Linked DNA regions of Homo sapiens: all the other regions are linked to region 3. The links are contacts of gene promoters, found by promoter capture Hi-C in blood cells and fetal thymus (Javierre and others, 2016). All regions are on one chromosome and are shown on one strand. Each heading gives the region's core, a stretch centred on a gene start or on the middle of the fragment in contact. The rest is flanking DNA. Distances are from core to core; before and after follow the strand shown.

Region 1 (3,987 bases), core at 1,383-3,882, 170 kb after region 3:
CTGAGCACCCACCCAGCTCTACAGACACAGTAGAGCTCTCCACCCTCAGATACAAAGTAAATACTTCCAGAGCTACACGCCCAGACCACTTCCTAGTACTTGGAATCCTGATCCCCATCTTAGTGGCTTCTTTGTCCTGGACTCACCTAAATATCACCTCCCTTAGAAGGCACCCTCTACGGCTTCCTGAAGGAGGAATCACTCCTTCTCTTGGCCCTGAAGCACACGAGGCCTCACCACCTGTCCTGTAATGACTTGTCCCCCATATCCCTCTGGGGCTGCAAACTAGGCAGCAGAGACCAGGGCTTGGTCTTCTATGCTTACGTGCACAAGGCTTTGTGGGAACATTTTTACTGTGCTTTCAAAACGTTTGTGTGTAAAGTGCAAAACCCTTCTGGATTTGATTCACAATACAGAACATTAGTTTAAAATTTCTCCCATTTCCTGACATTTTGAAAGTAAAAGTCAACCACTTAAAACTTCAATTACCATCACCTGCCCATAAAGAAAAACAGCAGCCCAGTTTTAGGGAGTGTATTCTATGAGATGAACTGGCCTACCCTTTGTCTTTCTTTGATTTTTTGTAGATTTGGCCTTTTCAGCATCTGCTTGACCAGCTGTAGGTTGATCCTCTTGTTCTTCCACATTTGAATTTGAAACTGTGAGAACAATTTCGTCACTTCTTTCATCTCCTGACATTGTTTCCACAAAAAAGAGCTGCTCCTTTGTTCTTTCAGCCAATAACTGGTTCTTCTCCTGCTCTTCCTCGAGCTAATAAACAACAAATATTCAAATATGATACTATTGATTTCAGTATAATTAGACTTTTGCCTGGATGAAGCACAGAATACAAAAAGAAAAGCCAAAGTGGAAGATTATGCATCACAATGTTAATTATTTCGCATCAGGGTTGTGGCAGTGAAACTTAACACTTTTTTTTAAAACATAATGCGCCTTACACTATTCCAATTAGCACCACTTTTAAAACTCTTTTTTAAAAAAGAACCTAAGAACTCTCAAGATTTTCCTGGGAAGTATTTGTACTGTCTTTAATTTGCAACTGCAAAATACCTTGTCCAGACATAATATTGCATAAAAGCCGACTTGAATTTTTTCTTTTTCATGTAAGGGGTTGTTTATTAAAACCAGCTGTACCTTGATCAGTCCAGTAGTTTCAGCCAGGCTCACCGCTAACTTACTGTCTTCACTGGCCACCATCACATTCTCCTCTAGAGCGTGGAACTGCAACACCTCCATCTCTTGCGGGGAGTACAGCTCTTGCTGGATACTAATGGCCACACACTGCTGCAGGCTCTGCCGGGGCCCTTCCTCAAGCCACAGCAACCCAGGGCCAGGCTGTTGCACCACCACCTGCACCCCTTCTTGCTGCTGTATGCTCAGCAAGCTCATATCCTGCAACTCCACAGCTTCAGAAGTGAAGTGCACCGTCTGCAGGGTCAGGATGTACTTCTCGCTCTCCTCCGAGGGGGCCAGCACCAGCTCCACTTCTTCCTCCAGGACGCTGTCCTGGAAGGCCCCAGAGGTACGCTCGGCCTCCAACTCACTAGGGCTCCGATGGTCTTTCTCTCTGCACACTCCGTCTTTTTCCTCCTCCTTCAGGCCTTTTTCCGGCATCAACTCGAGTTCTTTGATCTTGGTGAATTGCTCAGAAAGGACAGAGATCTCAGTGGCTGCCATAATGACTTGGCCTGTTTGAAAAATAAGCAAGCGGTTTCCATAGGGGGGAGAAGGGGGTGGTATGAGGAGGGATGCGGGGGGTGCTGGAACCTAGCAGGCTTTGGAGTTGAAACAAGGTCTGGCCTCAAAAGGTTTTGGACTTAGTAGGGTCAGAACAATGCTGATCTGGCTTGGGTCTAGGAGGGGGTCAAGGCTAAGCAGGATTTAGGCTAAAGCAGGATTTTGTACAAAACCCTAGAACGAACAGGTTTGGGCCTCAGCAGGCTTAGGGCCAGCACACATCCTGCGCCTGGCAAGGTTCCGCCTGAGCACACTCTGGCCCAGTGCATATCCTGGGCCTAGCAAGGTTAGGCCTGAGCCGGTTCAGTCAGTGAACATCCTGGGCCTAGTAAGGTTTGGGCCCAGCAGGCTCTCGGCCAGTGCATATCCTGGGCCTAGCAAGTTTCAGGTCCAAGCAGGCCCCGGGCCAGTGCACACCCGGCGCCCAGCGAGGTTCGGGCCCGAGCAGGCATTCCCCTCGTGCACGGTTCTAGACCTAGCACCCTCAGAGCCAGGCAGGCTTTGGGCCTAGTGGCCTCGAGCCCACCCAGACTTGGCCAAGCAGCCCTCGGCCAGACCAAGCACACTCCCTCGGAGGCCTGGCAGGGCCCCTGCTTTACCCTGCCCCCCACGCCCCGCCCCGACCCGACCCTCCCAGGCAGCCCCTCAGCGTCTGCCGCCCGCCCTTGGGCCTTTCCGGCCAGCCCCTCCCTCCGCCCACGCCCAGAACAGCCCATGCTCTTGGAGGAGAGCAGGTGGGCTTGACCGGGACTGGCCCCTCACCGCGGAAGGCGTGGCCGGAATGCTCGGCCCACTCCGTCTTTGGCTTGTGGGCTCTGCCTCGTGCACCGCGTGCTGCAGCCCACAGCCGGCCGCCGCCGGGCTGGCGCGAGAGTGGAGGGTGGCAGTGCGCAGGCGCGGAGCGGAAAAGAGGGGGCGTGAAGGGGGCGGAGCCAGGCAGGGTTGGGGGAGGGGGTGATGTACTGTGGGGGCAGGGGGGAAGGGGAGTAGGGAGGGGGAGGGGGAGCACGGATGAGGAGGACCCCAGAGGGGGCACTGGTGGACCTGGGGGGGTGGATGAGGAGGGGAGGAGGGTCCCATACAGGGCACTGGGAGACCTGGGGTGGGGGTGGATAAGGAGAGGAGGAGAGCCTGCAGGGCACTGGAAGACTGGGTAGTGGGGGAGCGCCTAAGGAGGGGAGGAGGGTCCTGCAGGGGCACGGAAATACCTTGGGGTTGAAGTGGATGAGGAAGGGAGGAGGGCCCCGCAGGGGGCGCTGGGAGACCCGGGGGGGAAGTAAGGAGGGCACGAGGGCCTGCAGGGGGCCTGGGAGATCTGAGGGGGAATGGATAAGGAGGGGAGGAGGGCCCACAGGAGGCACTGAGATACTGGGGGGAGGGGTGGAATGAGGGGGGGAGGGGTGGAATGAGGCGGGGAGGATAGCCCTGCAGGGGGGCTGGGAGACCTGAGGGGGGTGGTGGGTAATGGATAAGGAGGGGAGGGGGGCCTGCAGGGGGCCTGTGACACCTAGGGGAGGGGAATGGATAAGGAGGGTAGGAGGGCCAACAGGAGGCACTGAGATACCAGGGGGAGGGGTGGAATGAGGAGGGGAGAGCCCTGCAGGGGGGCGGGGAGACCTGAGGTGAGGGTAATGGATAAGGAGGGGAGGAGGGTCTGCAGGGGTTCTTGGGAGACCTGGGGGATGAATAGGAGAGGACAAGGGGAGGAGGGTCTGCAGGGGGCCCTGGGAGCCCTGCGGGGGGCGAGGGGTGGGGGAATGGATAAGGAGGGGAGGAGGGCCTGCAAGGGGTGCTGGGAGACTTGGGGGAGGGGAATGGATAAGGAGGGGAGGAGGGCCTGCAAGGGGTGCTGGGAGACCTGGGGGAGGGGAATGGATAAGGAGAGGAGGAGGGCCCGCAGGAGGCACTGAGAGACTGGGGGGAGGGGTGGAATGAGGAGGGGAGGAGAGCCCTGCAGGGGGCGCTGGGATACCTTGTGGGGGAATGGATAAGGAGGGGAGGGGGTCCTGCAGGGGGCGCTGGGAGACCTAGGGGAGGGGAATGGATAAGGGTGGGAGGAGGGCCCGCAGGAGGCACTGAGATACTGGGGGGAGGGGTGGAATGAGGAGGGGAGGAGAGCCCTGTAGGGGGCGCTGGGAGACCTTGGGGGGAATGGATAAGGAGGGGAAGAGGGCCCTCAGGGGGCGCTGGGAGACCTGGGGGGGAAATGGATAAGGAGGGGAGGATGGC
Region 2 (3,750 bases), core at 514-3,013, 210 kb after region 3:
ACTCAAACCTGTTACCGTTTTATCAGCAAAATGGGACTTTCTACCAATTTGGTGGGATGAGTCTCGCCGGGAGTGATGTGTGTGTCACGGAATTGTGGTCATGCATCGGGATGGCTAATTCACTGATGTCAGATGCTAACGAAGTGGCCTCGGCTACTGAGCATCACGTCACTGTTGGGTTTAGACACAACACGATCTTATGTATGGATGACAGCACCACTAATAACAAATGCCAGTGACCTAAACGGGGAATAACTTCAAATGAAACAAAAAGCACCTCATATCATATTTATCCTGAAAGACACAACTGGCTGAATAAAATCTGAATACAGGAAACATAGCAATGGGTTGATAATTTTGGTGGAACTTGATGATGTGTGACCCACGCCCAACACAGTGTGACCCAAGCCCCCAGGAGGGTTCTCTAAGTGAGTTTGGTCGGAGGCTGCCATTCACAGTGACTTGTATTTGCCACAGCAGCTCTTTCTAAGCCCAGTCCTGGGATTATCTCAGGGATCATCCCACACCCCAGCGGGGAGATGGGCCAAGTCCCCACCTGACCTCATCTTAGGTAGAGAGGCTTCCATGGAAGTGTGGGCTGGCTGTGGGGGGTTGAGACCTAGCCCCGTTCTTTTGACATTTCACCCTGTGTTCTCCAAACTCCAGCAAGCAGCTTCCATAGCTCATTAAATTTGACTGAAGGTCTGATGGCTTGCAAAGCAAATTCTTTACAACTGTTATAAAGGTTTCATTGCTTAAGCATATAATCTAGCAAAACTGCCAAGCCCCCTCCACTCCCTAAACTCTAAGACTTGCCAGGGAAGAGAACAGTGGCCAGTGGACTGCAGGAGTAACTGCACTCAGCCCAGAACTCCCTGGAGGACACAGGGAAGGTTCTGGAAAGGTGGCGGTACCTCACAGGGAGAGACGTGGTGCTCCAGGGCCCAACTTGCTCATGTTCAGATCCTCACTCTGCAACCCACCAGCCGGCTGTGAGTGGCTACACAATCTCTGCCTCAGTTTCCCTATCTGTACATGGGTTGTTCATAGCCTCCACCTCAGAGGGTAGTAATGATGCCAAGCTCTTAGAACAGTGCTCAGCATGTGTGCATCCTGTGCCTACTCTATGCCAAGCACTACAGAGAGAAAAATGAACAAAATAGGGAGAAATCCCTGCCCTCATGGAGTTTACATCGGGGCAGGGGGCGGGGGCGGCACAGAGCAGACAATCAATACAGTGATTAGCCCCCAGTTAGGTTAGGCATTTCCAATCTTTGCCAATAAGCCACATATTTGCCCAAGTTAGGGTGCATCCTTCCCATGAACTTTGACTGTGACCTTTGACTATGGGGTGACATCTTATAGCTGTGGTGTTTTGCCAACCAGCAGCTCTTGGTACACAAAATGTGCTGCTAGCAGGTGCCCCGGCCAACCTTGTCCTTGACCCACCTGCCTGTTAAGAAAAGGGTGTTGTGTTTTGCAACAGCAGTAAAATGGGTCAAGGTTTAGTCAGTTGGAAGTTGTGTCAAAACTCACTATGGTTGGTTGAGGGCTCGAAGTCTCCCAGCATTCATTAACAACTATCTGTTCAATGATTATCTCCCTGGGGCGTGTTGCAGTGAGTTGGCCCAAAGCATAACTGACCCTGGCCGTGATCCAGAGACCTGCCCCCTGACGTCAGTGGCGAGCCTCCCTGGGTGCAGCTGAGGGGCAGGGCTATTCTTTTCCACAGTATTTAAAGCTGGGAGGTTCTGCCACCAAGCACGGCCTTCCCACTGGGAACACAAACTTGCTGGCGGGAAGAGCCCGGAAAGAAACCTGTGGATCTCCCTTCGAGATCATCCAAAGAGAAGAAAGGTAAGTAGAGCTTTGCATTTACATTTTGAAAAATTACAAAGATGAACTCATTTTTTTCCTGAGAGCAATAACTATTTGGCAATGCACAGCCCTGGCAAAAGGCCGTCGAATGTGTTTGAAGGTGTCTGTTGTTGTTTTTGTTCAGGACGCTTGCGTTTTCTATTTCAGGTGACCTCACATTCGTGCCCCTTAGCAGCACTCTGCAGAAATGCCTCCTCAGCTGCAAAACGGCCTGAACCTCTCGGCCAAAGTTGTCCAGGGAAGCCTGGACAGCCTACCCCAGGCAGTGAGGGAGTTTCTCGAGAATAACGCTGAGCTGTGTCAGCCTGATCACATCCACATCTGTGACGGCTCTGAGGAGGAGAATGGGCGGCTTCTGGGCCAGATGGAGGAAGAGGGCATCCTCAGGCGGCTGAAGAAGTATGACAACTGGTAAGCTCGGCCCCCGCTGCCTGTCCCAGCACCCTGCAGGCAGGGCTCCCCTGCGTCTCCTGGGAGTTGGTGGAGAAAGGTGAATGAAGGCCTTCGGGTAGTTTCAGACTCTTGAGAAGATGAATGCAATGGTCAGAACCATACAGACTTGAATTTTGTGACATTAGTGGGCCAGCCCAAGCTTTAAATGAGGTGTGTGCACAAAAGCTCTGCCAACTAGATTCCTGATTAAAAAAAAGGCAGCCCCTCTCCTACAGACCAGGTCCTAGTGGAGTAAATGTCCACCTGGCCATGTCTTAGATGGTCTGTGTGTTCACACTGATGGACTGTTGTTAGCGTGCTCAGCACTCTGCTAGGCATGGAAAGCCACGGTACTGAAGGAGATGGTTCGCTGCCCGTGGTGCTTGGCTGAAAGGAAGCCTGTGATTTTTGCAGCTGGTTGGCTCTCACTGACCCCAGGGATGTGGCCAGGATCGAAAGCAAGACGGTTATCGTCACCCAAGAGCAAAGAGACACAGTGCCCATCCCCAAAACAGGCCTCAGCCAGCTCGGTCGCTGGATGTCAGAGGAGGATTTTGAGAAAGCGTTCAATGCCAGGTTCCCAGGGTGCATGAAAGGTGAGCGGAACATTGATTTGATTGGGTAAAACAGCAGAGAGCCTTTTCTTATTTACATCTATCCTAATGGTAATTCAAACAATAATGGAAGCTCCCACCACCTCAGATGTCTTTCAGTTCCATACATGAAGTTGGCAATGTATTGAAAATGCACATCCCTCTTCTGCTTTTACAGACTGTCTTATACAAACGTGAAAACTAGTTCCATGCATATGGGTTTTAAATAGCTTGGTGGGACCCAATTGCACATTTATGAAAACTCTTTAATTTCAGCAGGCTGTTCACTTTCCAGTGGCCTCTTCTAACCCAGGGGGCTGGTGACCAGCAGGGTGTGGTGGTGTTAGTGGAACACCGTGAAAATGGGTCTACCTGGGAAAAAAATGCTGGTCGTGTTCGAAGTCCAAGGTCATTTCTCACCAGTGCCCACCCATCGCACCCTGTAGGTCGCACCATGTACGTCATCCCATTCAGCATGGGGCCGCTGGGCTCGCCTCTGTCAAAGATCGGCATCGAGCTGACGGATTCACCCTACGTGGTGGCCAGCATGCGGATCATGACGCGGATGGGCACGCCCGTCCTGGAAGCAGTGGGCGATGGGGAGTTTGTCAAATGCCTCCATTCTGTGGGGTGCCCTCTGCCTTTACAAAGTAAGTGTATTATTTCAGAATCAAAAGTCAAAATAAAAAAGAAAGCTGAACGCAAACCCCAGTGAGTGCCTCGGGGACCCCCAAGCAGGGCCCTGGCGCACTGACTTGGGAGGGGTCCTTGTTCACAGAGCCTTTGGTCAACAACTGGCCCTGCAACCCGGAGCTGACGCTCATCGCCCACCTGCCTGACCGCAGAG
Region 3 (4,301 bases), core at 746-3,245:
AATCTGCTCGGGGCACCTTCCACGGTGTGGGAGGTTTGTTCTTTCGCTTTTTGGGACCACGTCGTCTTTATGAGCTGTAACACTCACCGCAAAGGTCTGCAGCTTTACTCCTGAAGCCAGCGAGACCACGAGCCCGCCGGGAGGAAGGAACAACTCCAGATGCGTCGCCTTAAGAGCTGTAACACTCACTGCCCGAAGGTCTGCAGCTTCGCTTCTGAGCCAGCGAGGCCATAAACCACCAGAAGGAAGAAACTCCAAACACATCTTAACATCAGAAGGAACAGACTCCGGATGCGCTGCTTTTAAGAACTGTAACACTCACCGCGAGGCTCCGCAGCTTCATTCTTGAAGTCAGTGAGACCAAGAACCCACCAATTCCGGACACAACATCACCTCTGTCAGCTTCATTTTCCATATCTATAAAATGGAGATAATCACAATACCTATCTTTTAGGGCTGGTCTGGAAACTACAGGAGATGGAGCATCTAAAGCGCTTAGCATAGGGTGATGCTCAAAAGAGCTATTATTACCATCATCGTCTAGACTAGAGGTTCTCAGTCTTGGCTGCATCTTAGAATCACCTGGGGAGCTTTTAAAAAATATTAATTTCCTCTTTTCTAGCCCAGGCGTACTAAATCAGAATCTCTAAGGGTGCAGTGTAAACATCACAGTTTTTAAAAAGCTGCCCAGGATTCCAAATGATCTACAGCCTTGGTACTTAACTCTGGTTCACGGCCCAGCAACCTCTGCTGGGAATTTGGTAGAAATGTGGATTTTTAGGCCCATCGTAGACCTACTGAATCTGCATTTTATAAAAAGATACCCCAGATCCTAAACCTCCTTAAGAAGGTCAAGGCACGCAGACCACACTGAGTAGTGAAGGAGAGAATCCAGGGTAGCTACATAACCTCACGAAATCCCTTCCTTGTGATCTGTCTTTTCCTTCACTTCCTTCTTCAGATGCTCCTAAAAGTAGGGGTTGGGAGGAAACAACCAACTGAAATATTTGGAGTGGGCGTGTGTGAGTAATAAGAATCCCTTAACATTTCTACAGACAGTTCTATTAGTAAGAGTAGTTCACGTATGATTTCACTTGACCCTAATTAGGAACAGCCCTGGCATCATTTTCCCCACCATGCAGCAGGAAACTGAGGCCCAAAGAGCCCCGAGGTGGGCTCAGGGTACCCCAGTGGGCAAACAGGGAGAGGCCAGGGCGGGAAACCCGCGGCCGACCTCGCCTTGTTCGGAGGCAGCGTTAGAGCAGCTTCTCGGAGGTTGGCCTTGGACGTGAATTGGAAGCAATCAGAATCTTTTAGATGTTTATACATGATAAATGCAATAATTAATTCACAAGAGAAAACAGCTAGCTACCTTGCACTAGCCCTAGTTGCGGATTGATTGACTGATTTGAGATGGAGTTTCGCTCTTGTTGTCCAGACTGGAGTGCAATGGCATGGTCTCGGCTCACTGCAACCTCCACCTCCTGGGTTCAAGCGATTCTCCTGCCTTAGCCTCCCAAGCAGCTGGGATTACAGGCACCCGCCACCATGCCCGGCTAATTTTTGTATTTTTAGTACTGACGGGGGGACGGGGGGGCGGGGGGGCGGGGGGACGGGGGGCGGGGGGGGCGGGGGGGGCGGGGGGACGGGGGCGGGGGGCGGGGGGGGGCGGCGCGGGGGGGCGGGGGGGGCGGGGGGCGGGGCGGTTCACGATGTTGGCCAGACTTGTCTTGAACTCCTGACCCCAGGTGATCAGCCCGCCTCGGCCTCCCAAAGTGCTGGGATTACAGGCGTGAGCCACCGCGCCTGGCCAGTTGCGGATTTATAAAAGCAGTCGCTTAGTAACTTGCAGCGGCTACATCAACTTTGGACCAATTCGCAAACTGCTGGTGTAAAGCGTTTTTGCGCATGTGCTGTCGCCTTGCGGGAAAAGGAGCCTTTTTCTTCGACGATTTCCGGGCGACGCAGGAAGTGGCTCCAGGGCGCACGCGCGTTGTTTCCGCGGTAGTCAGGGCAGTTTCTACCGCAGGCTTAAGGAGGCTTCGGGCTCCTGGGATTTCTGTCCGCGCTCCTGGCCCTCGTCCTTCGCGCCAGAGCAGGTTCGCAAACTCCTCAGACCCTTCTGCTCCCGGCCGCCGCTTTCCGCCGGGGCGAGACCCCCAGGTAGGCCCCGTGCCGCGCGCGTCCCGTCGTTAACCGCCGCCATGGCTCCCGCAGAGGCCGAGTTGCCTCCCGGGAGCGCGCTTCTGCGGGATGCTGGGGCGCGAGCGGGACTGTTGACTAAGCTTCGTTACTGGGCCCTGGAAGCGAGGTCAGAGCTGGAAATGGCCTTAGGGGTCACCTAGGGCCTAATCCATCGTTTCTCTTGTGGGGGAACTGAGCCTCTGGGAAGGGTCACATTGCGTTAATGCAGTGTGTGTCGCCTCTGTCCCTCCCCCTTACACGTCTGGCGTCTCGTCAGATACATGTCAGCTCCTGGGAGAAGCTTTCCCTGGCCGCTTTGCAGAAGGGCGTCCCCTTTTAGCCTCTTCCACGTCAACCTGCTCCATTTCTTTCGTAGCAGTTACCAGTCTCTGAAACTAAGTCTGTTTCTGTCTTAGCCCGCCAAGTATTTATTGTATACGTATATAGGTGCCACCGTACAGGCAGTACTTCTCCAGGCAAGTAGTATTAAACACCAGCCGCCCTGGGCCAGGCATTGTACTGTGGGACCCAGTATGCATTAAGGGAAGAATCCAGGCAAGTGGCTGCCCTCTTGGAGCCAGCATTCTGGGGGGGAAGAGATTTTGAGTGTAAACAAGAAATTCCAGGGGATGTGATGGAAGATTAGATATGTTAAAGTTGGCAAAGAAGCGTCTGAGGAGGTGACTTTAAAAAAGAATACGTGTGACAGCTTTATTGAAGTATAAAATAACATTAATTTCAACCATTGAAAGTGTATATTGTGAGTTTGGAAATTTTATGCAGTTGCGTAAACATGGCAAGTTCAAATTTGGGACATTTTCATCACCCCAAGAAGTTCGGAGGAGGCAACTTTTGAACTGGGATATGAAGATTCAAACGGAGGTAGCTGTGGGGAGGGAGAAGCAAATCATCCCAAGCTGAAGGAACAGCACTAGGTTTGCTCCAAGGCAGGGATGAGCTTGTTGTGTTCAGCGGAGAAAGGAAGCCAGCAGAGCTAGGAGGGCTGGGGTGCAGCAAGGCGGGAGAGAGCGGGAAGAGATTAGGTGGGTCCCACAGATGACTGTGCCTTCTGAACTTTGGAAGCTTCCCAGTGCTCAGCATAAGGTGTGGTCCACACTGACTAACACGAACGATTCTCACCTACCATGTTCTTTTTCCTAAGTTCATCCCTAATGGCAGAAATGTTCTCTCCCAACTTGAAGGTTGAGGTAGAGGAATAGAGTGAAAGTAATATTTATTAAGAACCTGTAGTGCTTTAGGCAGTGTGTGTGTGTGGCTTCATTTAGTTCTCATAACTCTGTGAAGTAGATATTAGTGTCTCTGTTTTACAGATGAGAAAATCAAGGTTAAGTGACCCGTCCAAAGCCGTGTAACCAGCACCTGGACTGATTGCAGAAGCCTTGTCATGCCTTTGTTCGTTCATACAGCCAACTGGTGTTTCAAGTACCTCTGCATTTGAGGGCAGAAGTGTGGCCGGCAAGGACCACATCCCCTCACGTTCACTAAAATGTACATGTGCTTGTAGCTGTTGCTCTGACCTTTTGTTCTGCACTTATTTTTCATGAAGCTGAGGAAACTCAAATGCCTTCCCCAAATTCCTTGCAGTTTCTCCGTTCTGTGTTGTCTTGTTAGCAAGGATGTCACTCAGCCATTTGGCTCCCTTTGGAGAGGTGACTGGTATGGAGGACTTTTCAGCGTAACAGGTAGTAGGATTGAAATGTGGTTTCAGTGTACGTAACTCCTCGGGGAGTTGGAAGGAAAAAAGAAGGGAAAAGTCGTTTATTGTACCCACTATGAACTAGATACTGCATTTTCTACATAATCTGATTTGATCCCCAGAGCAGCCCTGGAGAATGTGTTAATGTTCTCTATGTTTGCAGAGCAGGAAAATGAAGACTGGTGAGATTAGAGTCCCAACTCCTGAGTGGCAAGAGGCCCTGACCAAACCCTGGTGGGCCTGTTAGATTATGATATTCAAGAAAAAACCCAGGGTGGGAGAGGTTCTTGCTGGGTAAATGTCCAAAACACGATGCCCGACCTTTTTAAAACTTTTACGAAGAAATTGCTGATTCGCTTCCCGGACTGGTTGTTCTAGGTAGTTTCATGCGGATGCTGAC

The links. Contacts are between HindIII fragments. The CHiCAGO score rates a contact against its expected background, and 5 or more counts as called.
Region 1: the fragment with the promoter of CTCFL here is called in contact with the fragment with the promoter of RAE1 in region 3 in 11 of 17 cell types (naive B cells, naive CD8 T cells, non-activated CD4 T cells and 8 more); the score reaches 12.0 in naive B cells.
Region 2: a contact is called between the fragment with the promoter of PCK1 here and the fragment with the promoter of RAE1 in region 3, in 2 of 17 cell types (erythroblasts and neutrophils). The highest score is 12.4, in erythroblasts.

Annotation. Positions count from the first base shown.
Region 1 is chr20:57,522,508-57,526,494 of GRCh38, forward strand. It overlaps CTCFL (CCCTC-binding factor like), which reads right to left and starts at 2,633. Exons shown (of 11, transcript NM_001386993.1): 1 at 2,521-2,633; 2 at 1,156-1,709; 3 at 561-771. The coding sequence starts at 1,698. RefSeq lists an enhancer at 824-1,762. The HindIII fragment of the contact is 10,995 bases long and covers 1-3,987 here.
Region 2 is chr20:57,559,347-57,563,096 of GRCh38, forward strand. PCK1 (phosphoenolpyruvate carboxykinase 1) reads left to right here and starts at 1,764. Exons shown (of 10, transcript NM_002591.4): 1 at 1,764-1,857; 2 at 2,026-2,289; 3 at 2,725-2,906; 4 at 3,350-3,553; 5 at 3,682-3,750. The coding sequence starts at 2,066. The HindIII fragment of the contact is 6,047 bases long and covers 1-2,468 here.
Region 3 is chr20:57,349,260-57,353,560 of GRCh38, forward strand. RAE1 (ribonucleic acid export 1) reads left to right here and starts at 1,996. Exons shown (of 12, transcript NM_003610.4): 1 at 1,996-2,163. RefSeq lists enhancers at 1,627-2,195, 2,386-2,465. The HindIII fragment of the contact is 3,413 bases long and covers 1-2,283 here.